3 separate regions of the Homo sapiens genome follow, and all the other regions are linked to region 1. Evidence: promoter capture Hi-C in human tissues and cell types (Jung and others, 2019). All regions are on one chromosome and are shown on one strand. Each heading gives the region's core, a stretch centred on a gene start or on the middle of the fragment in contact. The rest is flanking DNA. Distances are from core to core; before and after follow the strand shown. Region 1 holds the start of KCNE2 (potassium voltage-gated channel subfamily E regulatory subunit 2). Region 2 has its middle 39 kb from the start of MIR802. Region 3 has its middle 85 kb from the start of LINC01436.

The links. The method cuts DNA at HindIII sites, captures the fragments that hold promoters and counts their contacts. A contact is called where the count stands out against the background at its distance.
Region 2: a contact is called between a fragment that was not itself captured here and the fragment with the promoter of KCNE2 in region 1, in 1 of the 25 tissues and cell types used here (dorsolateral prefrontal cortex).
Region 3: a fragment that was not itself captured here is called in contact with the fragment with the promoter of KCNE2 in region 1 in 1 of the 25 tissues and cell types used here (dorsolateral prefrontal cortex).

The regions. Positions count from the first base shown.
Region 1 is chr21:34,362,653-34,366,280 of GRCh38, forward strand. It overlaps KCNE2 (potassium voltage-gated channel subfamily E regulatory subunit 2), which reads left to right and starts at 1,354. Exons shown (of 2, transcript NM_172201.2): 1 at 1,354-1,499. The region is part of intron 2 of LOC105372791 (a long non-coding RNA gene); the gene reads right to left. The HindIII fragment of the contact is 19,800 bases long and covers 1-3,628 here.
Region 2 is chr21:35,758,391-35,761,655 of GRCh38, forward strand. No RefSeq gene overlaps it. Among named protein-coding and RNA genes, the nearest start is that of MIR802, 39 kb to the left of the region's middle. The HindIII fragment of the contact is 3,423 bases long and covers 228-3,265 here.
Region 3 is chr21:35,918,554-35,921,945 of GRCh38, forward strand. No RefSeq gene overlaps it. Among named protein-coding and RNA genes, the nearest start is that of LINC01436, 85 kb to the right of the region's middle. The HindIII fragment of the contact is 6,106 bases long and covers 1-3,392 here.

The DNA of each region.
Region 1 (3,628 bases), core at 104-2,603:
CCAATTCCAAGGGTCCCCACCATGATAGAAAAGGATCTTTTGGTAAATAGAGTATGTTTAGCTCTTGCTAGGTCTTTAAATACTTTGCTGGGGGCCAGGCACCATGGCTCACACCTGTAATCCCACCGCCTTAGGAGACTGAGGCTGGAGGATCCTTTGCGGCCAAGAGTTTGAGACCAGCCTGGGCAACACAGCAAGACCCTATTTCTACAAAAATAAAAATAAAAATTAACCAGGCTTTGTACACACTTGTAGTCCCATTACTTGGGAGGCTGAGGCAGGAGGATCCCTCAAGCCCAAGAGTTCAAAGCTGTAGTGAGCTATGATTGCGCCACTGCACTCCAGCCTGGGTGACAGAGTAAGACTCTGTTTCAAAACAACAACAACAAACAAAAACCTCAAAACCTCTTTGTTGGACTTAACTTCCAGCTCCTCCATGTAGTACCTTAGTACCCTTGCAGCCCGTTTCTCTTTTACAAGACAACAATGTTGTTATAAACTCATTTGGATGTGGTCCCGTGGAGGAGTATTTACCAGAATCTAGCTTATTTAGCGTCTTCAGAACACGGCACTTGCCTGGAATTATACTGACCCCCTCAACCCATACCAACCACCCAGAGATGGCTGTTCTTGGCTCCTCTCCCTGGGGCCCTGTCCTTCCCACATCGTCTTCTTCTTCTTTCTTCTTCTTTCTTCTTCCTTCTTCTTCCTTCTTCTTCCTTCTTCTTCCTTCTTCTTCCTTCTTCCTCTTCCTCTTCCTCTTCTTCTTTCTTCTTTCATTGAGACAGAGTCTCACTCTGTCACCCAGCCTGGAGTGCCGTGGTATGATTTCAGCTCACTGTAACTTCTGCCTTGTGGATTCAAGTGATTCTCCTGCCTCAGCCTCCAGAGTAGCAGGGACTACAGGTGTGTGCCACCACACCTGGCTAATTTTTACATTTTTAAGTAGAGACGGGGTTTCACCATGTTGGCAAGGCTGGTCTTGAACTCCTGATCTCAGGTGATCTGCCCGCCTCAGCCTCCCAAAGTGCTGGGATTACAGGCGTGAGCCACCCCACCCAGCCCTTCCCACGTATTCTGGCAGGGAATGCTGTTGTCCCCCAAGCCTACCCTAAGAGGAAGACTTCTTCTGGGGAAAGATGTTCACTGTACCCAGGCCCTGCCCTGGCTGGAGCTGGCAGGAAGGGTCCCAGAGCAGGAACTTGTGCCACTCTGCCCAAAGCCAGAGTCCCTGAGGCACACACCCCATCAGGCACCAAGGTGAATTCCAACTGCCAGTTAGTATTTAACTTTCCACATACGATTAGATTAAACATGTGGGTTCATAAAAGCATAGGATTGCAGACTGCAGTTGCAAGGGCTTAGATGGTTGTAAGGTGAAGGTGCCCAGCAGGCTGAGGCTTGTGTGCAACCCAGAAGAGAGCTCGCTAACGCCAGCAAGAAGGTTCAGAACAGCCTGGCTTTGGAAAGGAATTTCATCCTGCCCACACACTGCATAGGTAAGTCTTAGCACACATTCTTTATTTTTTGAGGAATTAAGTAACAAAGTTATCTATGTGCCTTTTCCAGAAAATGATAAAAGGAATGATTTTCCTGGTACATGGCCTGGCTCCTCATCCACTCTTCCTTCTTTCCTTCTTGTGTTTTCCTTACTCATTTCTTTGTTAATTGCCTTAGAATGAAAATTTTGAGAGTTTTTAAAATGGAGGATTCATGGTAAACGTAGGTAATCATATTGTTTTCTCTTCTTGATATAAAAATGAAAGACTTTGCTGCCTTTTATAGGCCCAGGTGATGTGAGCGATCTACCATGTTTCAAGAAAAGAAAACTTTGGGGCTGGGCGCGGTGGCTCACGCCTGTAATCCCAGCACTTTGAGAGGCTGAGGCAGGCGGATCACCTGAGGTCAGGAGATCGAGACCAGCCTGGCCAACATAGTGAAACCCCATCTCTACTAAAAATACAAAAAAAATTAGCCTGGCGTGGTGGCTGGCGCCTGTAGTCCCAGCTACTCAGGAAGCTGAGGCAGGAGAACGGCATGAACCCGGGAGGTGGAGCTTGCAGTGAGCCGAGATCACGCCACTGCACTCCAGCCTGGGCGACAGAGTGAGACTCCATCTCAAAAAAAAAAAAAAGAAAGAAAAGAAAACTCTGGACTTTGGGGTCAAATGAGTGTTACTTTCCTAATAGTGTCCTGATTGCTGTTGTCATGAATAACACACATTCATGACAGGAATGGCTGGAATTAGGGGATCATTCTGTAGCCTGGAGACAGGGCACAACTAATGACATGTGTAAGCTCAAATCATGGTCTTGATCTTATGTCTTGTACCCAGTTGAGCCAACTGGTCACAGCAATGAAAACAGTGAGTTATTGGAATGTGTGACCTCTGCTAGGACAGTCAGTGCTGGACACTGGCTTGGGTGATGTGAGTTCTAGTCCAGGCACTGTGGCCAACTTGAGAGGCTTGTGATCTTGGACAGGTGACTTAAGCCCTCTAGGCTATAGTTATTCCACCTATCAGAGAGCAAACCAGCCTAAATGATCTCCAGGGGCCCAGCCTGTGCTAGGACTCAGCAAGAAGCATTCACTGGAAATGTAGGTCCTCCTAGGTTGATACACATGAATTGCCCATATTTGACCATTTCTAACCTATATAAATGGCTATTTCATATAATTCCAGAGAACATAAATGGTAGTTGTCTTAGCATTACTAAAGTAAATGCCTATTATGATATTCTACTTAGGGGTAGGATAAGTATGTATACCAAATATGGTTTGTTTCGATTTGATTTTTGAGACAGGGTCTCACTGTCACTGCTGAGTGCAGTGGTGTGATCATGGCTTACTGCAGCCTTGACCTCCCAGGTTCAAGCTATCCTCCCACCTCAGCCTCCTGAGTAGCTGGGACTATAGGAGTGTGCCATCACATCCAGCTATTTTTTTATGTTTTGTAGAGGTGGTGTCTCGCTATGTTGTCCAGGCTGATCTCGAACTCCTGGGTTCAAGCGATCCTCCCACCTCGGCCTCCCGAAGTGCTGGGATTACAGGTGTGAACCACTGTGCCTGGCCTCCAAATATGGTTGATGTCTATCAGTCAGTTAAACAGTAATTCTGGGAATAAAAAATTGAAATCAACCCACTTATAATTGGAATGTCTTAGCATAATGTCCTTCAACGAAGCTGCTTTCACACACTGTGATTTGTTTTTTTCCTGTGGTCATGGAGCAGGCATGGGCCACTCGGCCACATCTCATGCATCCGTATTCAAAAGCCAAATCCCTTTTGGATCCTGTTTATTTGGCCTGGCCACGGGTGAGCACTTAGACATTTAATCCCTATAGGCCCTTTCATCCCTGTGATTAAGTCTTATCAAAAAGCACCTCCTGACCGGCTTAGCAGTGGGGCCTTTGTTCACATTAGAAGGGTTGAACAAATAATGGGCAGTTGGGGCTGCTTAGCTCTAAAAGGCTGGTGAACGCTGCCATGCCTGCACCTGGAAACAAACCCAAATGACTCCAGTGGAATTCAGCACTGAAGTCCCTCATCTCAAAGACCTTTTGTGGCAGAGACTCTTGGATGGGCCTTAGGGGTCCCAGGAGTCCCCTGAAATTGAATGTAGAGCTTC
Region 2 (3,265 bases), core at 689-3,188, 1.4 Mb after region 1:
TTACAATAACCAAAATATGGAATAAACTTAAATGTTCGTCGACAGATTAATGGATAAGTGTGGTATACACACAATGGAATATTATTCCCCCATAAAAAAGAATGAAATTCTGTCATTTGCAGCAACATAGATGGAACTGGAGGTCATTATATTAAGTGAAGCAAGCCAGGCACAAAAGACAAATGTCACATGTTCTCACTCACGGAATTCACAAAGGTAGAGAGTACAATGGTGGTAACCAGAGGCTGGGAAGGGAAGAGGGGAAAGGGAGATGAAGAGAAGGTGGTTAAAGGGCACAAAAACTCAGAAGAAATAACTTCTAGTATTTGGAAGTACCGTAGGAAAATTATAGTTAATAATTTATTGAATGTTTCAAAATAGAAGAGAAGAATTATAATGTTCCCAAAACAAAGAAAAGATAAATGTTTGAGGCGATGGATGTCCCAGTTACCCTGATTTGGTCATTACACGTTGTATACAGGTATCAAAATATTACATGTACCCCAAAATTTATACAACGCTTATATATCAATAAATTAAATTAAGTTAAATAAACAGGAAGCACCAGGAGGAACTCCTGATGCATTTTATGCTTAAAACAAAAAATCCTAGGTCTTTCCATAGATAAATCTAAGAATGATGATAAATATGGTGGAAACAGGGTCTCTTGGTGCTCCAAATATCGTTTCCCAAAACAAAGGAACAGGACATCCCAGAGTAATGGCTGACTCCGGGCCTGAAACAGGGTATGTAGAAGAGGGCCCTTCAATGCACCGTCACACTGGAAAGCAAGGAAGCCATCAAAGACAGCCAGAGTGCTTCAAAGGACTCAGAAATCAACTTATGAGGCCCCACTGGTCAAGGATGGCACAAGGTGAGCATGAGTAAGGACACTAACTGTAACAGATGGAAACATACCAAATAGATTTCATCCAAAATTTCATAAGAACACTGTAAAATCACTGACTGCCTTTGGAGAAGACTAGTAAACCAATTTGTTATTTTGAGAACTGATGAGTAAAGAGAGTGTCAAGCACATACCCTGCCTTTCCTACACAAAGAGAAAAACCAGACATTACGTCCCCCACAGAAGAACCAACCCCACCTGTAAAATAACCTTGCTGAAAAGTGTGAACCTTAGTCCATTTAAGCATTTGGATCTAATACCAGCTCATAGGAAATCCAGGTAACAGAAGAACATGTTAAATGACACCACAGGTGTCTACATCTGGGGAAGCATCAGCAAAATACAAACTAGGGGGAGGCCTGAAGGTTAAAAGGTAAAGAGCAAGGGAAAATATAGATTAAAAAAGACATAAGAGGCATGTTAGCAAATCACACTATATGGGTCTTAGTTGATACTTTTTCAAATAAATAAAAGGTTAAAAATTACAGTACAATCAAGGAAATGTAAACACTCGCTGGATACTTAGTGATGTTGAGGGAATATTAAAGTGAGATAATATTGTGTTTTTATTTAAAATGGGGAGCCTATGTCTTTAGAAATATGTTTAGATAAAATAATATGATGCTTGGGATTTGCCTCAAAATAACCTGGAGGGGAGGTGCTATGTGTTGCTTCTGTGTTGCTGCTCAAATCTCATGTCAAATTGTAACCCCCAGTGTTGGAAATGGGGCCCGGTGGGAGGAGATTGGATCATGGGGACAGATTTTCCCCTTGGTACTGTCCTTGAGATAGTGAGTTCTCATGAGATCTGGTTATTTAAAAGTGTGTGGTACCTGCCCCACTTCCCTTCTTCCTTCTGCTCTGGCCATGTGAGATATCTCACTCCCCCTTTGCCTTCTGCCACGATTGGAAGCTTCCAGAGGCCCCTCCAGAAGCAGAAGTTGCTATGCTTCCTGTACAACCTGCAGAACCGTGAGTCAATTAAACTTCTTGTGTTTATAAATTACCCAGTCTCAGGAGTACTACCTGAGACCTGTATAAATTACCTAATACAGGAGGTACTGGAGGTACAGAGAATATGAGATTGTCCACAAGTTGATTGTTGTTAAAGCAAATTGTTGGAAACATGGGAGTTCATTATACTCTACTGTTGCACATAAGTATTTGAATTTTCCCATAATAAAAAGTTTGTGCAAAAAAAGATTTTTTAGTATGGGAAGTCGTTTTTCAAGTTACAAGATAATCACTCTCGATAATCACTCTTAATCTCCTGAGTGAAGAAGCTATATTAGTTAGGGTTCTCCAAAGAAAGAGAAGCAGTAGAAATATGAGTTATACAAGAGGGATTTATTATAGGAATCAGCTCATGTGATTATGGAGACCAAGAAGTCCACCACCTGCTGTCTGCAAGCTGGCCACTCAGGAAATCCAGTGGTACAAATCAATCTGAATCCAAAGCCTGAGAATCAGGAGTCCTGATGTCCAAAGGCAGGAGAAGATTGGATGTTCCAGCTCAAAAAGAAAGAGTGAATTCACCCTTCCTCTACCTTTTCATAATATTTGAGCCCTCAACAGGTTGATAATCCCCACCTGTATCAATGACAACAATCTTCTTTACCCTGTCTACTAATTCAAATACTGATCTCTTCCAGAACACCCTCATAGATACACTCGGAAATAATTTTTTATCAGCTATCTGGGTATCCCTTAACCCAGTCAAGTTGACATATAAAATTAACCATCACAGAAGCCTAATGAAAACACGACGGAGACACATCCTTGGTTGTTCTGTGTGTTCTATAACCAAGGCTGTTTGGGGGGTCTGAGGCAGGAACCCCACTTCAAAGCTTTGCTGTCAGAACTTCAAGAGCCAGACACATCCAAAAGTCAGCTCTGACTACCAACCATCTTCCATGACAGCCAGGGTCAGATTCAGCAAGGATGACAGTCCAGGGAGGTTGTTCCTTATAGTAACAATTTTTTTTTGTTAAGAAACTACAATATATATAGTCTGCTCATTCATATATATAAATATTATTTATCAAAATAGTAATATTTTATTAAGTTTTAAAAATTAAAACTCTGATCTCTGAATGAAATGTAAATTCCTAGGTCTAATACATAAGGACTGCAGAATAAAGTATAGTGGAACTTCTTTTTTAATCCAAAAGAAAACTATTAAGAAGTAAATATCAACTAAAAGGAGAAAAGAATAAGTCCTAAGTTAATGGATAGAATTTATATTTTCTTCAACCATATAATCAGGGTATAAAAAGATTGATGAGCAGCTTAACGTCTATTGAGAAGAAAAATAATTGGAAAGTTCTTGAGTTATACATATGTTTGCTCTTCCATTCT
Region 3 (3,392 bases), core at 66-2,565, 1.6 Mb after region 1:
GCAATAGAAAAAAATTAAAAACATCTAATAGGAGAGCAGTTTAAAAAACTGTGGTCATCAGTTTAAAATATTGGGCTCTTATACATGATGAAAAAAATAAATCATAGAATATTTATAGTACGCTATCACTTGTTTATTAAAACATGTATATAAGTACAGTCTACACATCTCTGCAGGTGCAAAATCTGCAGAGAAAGAACTGGAAGTATAGTCACATCCTTTCACTTTGGCTGTCAGGAATGTAATATACAAATGTTTTAGCACATGTCAAACTGAACTGTATTTATTTGTTTTCATGTCTGTCCCCCCTCTAAGCTACCACTTTTTGACAGACTGTCTTTTTTCTCCACAGGCAGTGCTCTATAAATGTCCGATAAATGGCTGCATGGTTTTCTTGCCCTTGGACCTGTCCCACTCAACATTTTAGAGGTTCAAAGAATGATACAATATTCAGTTTGAAACTCATTATCGCCATTTACTACTTGTATGACCTTGGGCTGTTAGTTAAACTCATTGAGCCTTAGTTTTCCCATCTATTATGAGAAGAAAATAATGCCTAAGTCATAGCATCACTTGAAGGATTAAATAATCAACTATATAAAAAGTTGCTAGCACAGTGCCTGGCACTGCTATGGATTCAAAACAAACCCTTCCAAACTTAGTGGCTTAAAACTATGACTATGATTTAACATGCATCTAAATCTGACTTTGGGCAGGGCTCATCAGGGACAGCTCATCTCGGCTCTACTGCTATAAGCTGGGACATCTGGATTGGTGTGAAGGATCACTCCCAAGGTGGCTCCCTCACATGGCTGGCAAGTTGTTCTGGGTGTTGGACCCTCCCCATGAAAGCCTCTCCACAAAACAGCTTGGGCTTCCTCTCAACATGGTGGCTGGATTCCAAGAATAAGCCTCTCAAGAGATATTAATAAAGTAGATGCTACCAGTTTCTTAAAACTAAGGCCTGAAAAATGGCACGATGTCACTTCACCATATGCCATTGGTCAAGCAGTTAGAGAGTCCAGATCCAATCTGCCTCTGGACACCAATTATTGACATCCCTCTAGCATGCAAAATGCATTTATGCCTCCCAGGATCCTGCAAACATCTCAACCCTTTAAATCCTGTCCAAGTGGAAATGAAGCTCCCTGAGAGTGGCCCTTTGGGTACAACATATTGAGTACTGTTCATCACCATCTGACTATTAGGAACTAAAGAGGCAAGTTACCTTTACTGACCACCACCCCCCAGACACACACAAATACACACACACACTCCACATACGATAGTGGAATAAGCAGAGGATAACCACAAGAGACACTCCCGTTAAAAGGGGGAAACAGAAGGCACAGAGCTGGCAATGGCCCCCAGAGCACTTCTGCAATCCAGCTCCATAGGTGTTGCAAATTCCTTTCTAGAGCCTAGTACTCTCCAATACTCTTGGTTGTACCCTCTGGTCTCCTGTTTCTGCTCCTGAATATCTTCCTCTTCTATAAGAATACCGAGTTGGTGATTTTGTCGGATTTTCAGTCTACTTCCTGCTTCTAGAGGTTGGAGCTCCATCTCTGTCTCTTTCAATCTAATCAGGTGGTGCTTGCAGTCAATAGAGGCTATTATTATTGTTATTAATAACATGAATAAAAATATAAAGATGCCTTACCCAATAGGTAATACTTACCAATATTTTTGGAGGACAGAATTAAATTGGTTAAACCCAACAAGATGAAATTGGGTAAGAGTAAATAAAAGTCCTGCATTTAGACTTTAAAAATCAATTTCATAATTACAGGATGAGGAGGCTTTGGCTTACTGGCATGCTTACCTCCCAGACTAAGCTGTAAGCTTTTAGTGGGAGAAAATTGGGGGGATTTAGCTGACAGCAATCTCACAATGAAACAAAAGCATGAAGAGACACACACTGTAAGTGGCATCCTGACAAAGCTGCTTGTGCTCAGGATGGTGAAGGAAATAAAACCACATCATAGGAGTAACTGTGGACAAAATGAGTGGCTTTGCCTGGAGAAGAGAAAGCCTTAGGGAAGTGGTAGAGCAAGTTATCAACTTCACGTGTTTGAAAGGCTGTCACATAAAAGAAGAAATGGACTTTGCTCCAGAGGACAGAACCAGCATGGCTAGGTGGTGGTTTCAGGAGAGCTAACTTTCATCAGAATAAAAAAGCGTTTCCCAACACCCAGAGTCCTTGCGCTCAACCTCAGTTGTCCTACTGGCATCACCTGAAGAATGTTAAATAATATGGATGCTCAAAGACCTAAAAACAGAAATATCATTTGATCCAGCACTCCCGTTACTGGGTATATACCCAAAGGAATATACATTGTTCTATTATAAAGACACATGCACACGTATGTTTATTGCAGCACTATTCACAATAGCAAAGACATGGAACCAACCCAAATGCCCATCAGTGATAGACTGGATAAAGAAAATGTGGTATATATACACCATGGAATACTATGCAGCCATAAAAAAAGAATGAGATCATGTCCTTTGCAGGGACATGGATAGAGCTGGAGGCCGTTATCCTTAGCAAACTAACCCAGGAACAGAAAACCAAATACCACATATTCTCACTCATAAGTGAGAGCTACATGATGAGAACACATGGACACACAGGAACACATGGACACACAGAGGGGAACAACACACACTGGGGCCTATAGGAAGGTGAAGGGTGGGAGGAGGGAGAGGATCAGGAAAAATAACTAATGGGTACTAGGCATAATAACTGGGTGATTAAATAATCTACACAACAAACCCCCATGACACAAGTTTACTTATGTAACAAACCTGCACATGTAACTTAAACAAAAGTTTAATAATAATAATAAACTTAACTTAAAACAAAAGTCTAATAATAATATTGATGCCAGCAGCTTCCCCAGGACAATTCTATCAGAGTCACTGAGGATGGGTTGCAAGCAGTAAAGATTTTATAAAATGGATCAGGTGATGACATTGTACTGCCAGGATTATGTACATTGAAAGGACCTAAAGCAAATATCAATAAATGATCTGCTCACAAAGAAGGGACTTAGCCAACCACAAAAAGGTTTAAGCAAGTCTGAGTGGCTGTCAGTATTGTTACTATAGAGAAGTCCTGTATCAAGTGATCAGGCAGATGAGCTTTAGACTCCAGGGTAGAGAATGATTAAATTCCACTGAACAACAGAAACAGCCCAGAGATTCCTAATGCAGAGGGAGCCGTGCCATGTTCAGACCATATTTCTTCCCTCCACCCCGTGCCAACTCAGTCTCCTGGAAAAAGAAGATGGAACCAGTCCTCAGAGTGGATTTCTTTGTCCAAATGGACAGTTTGAGTCAGGGAACCATTTGTTTAGAATGGCTAAGAAAACTGAAAGTTTAGGGTAGAG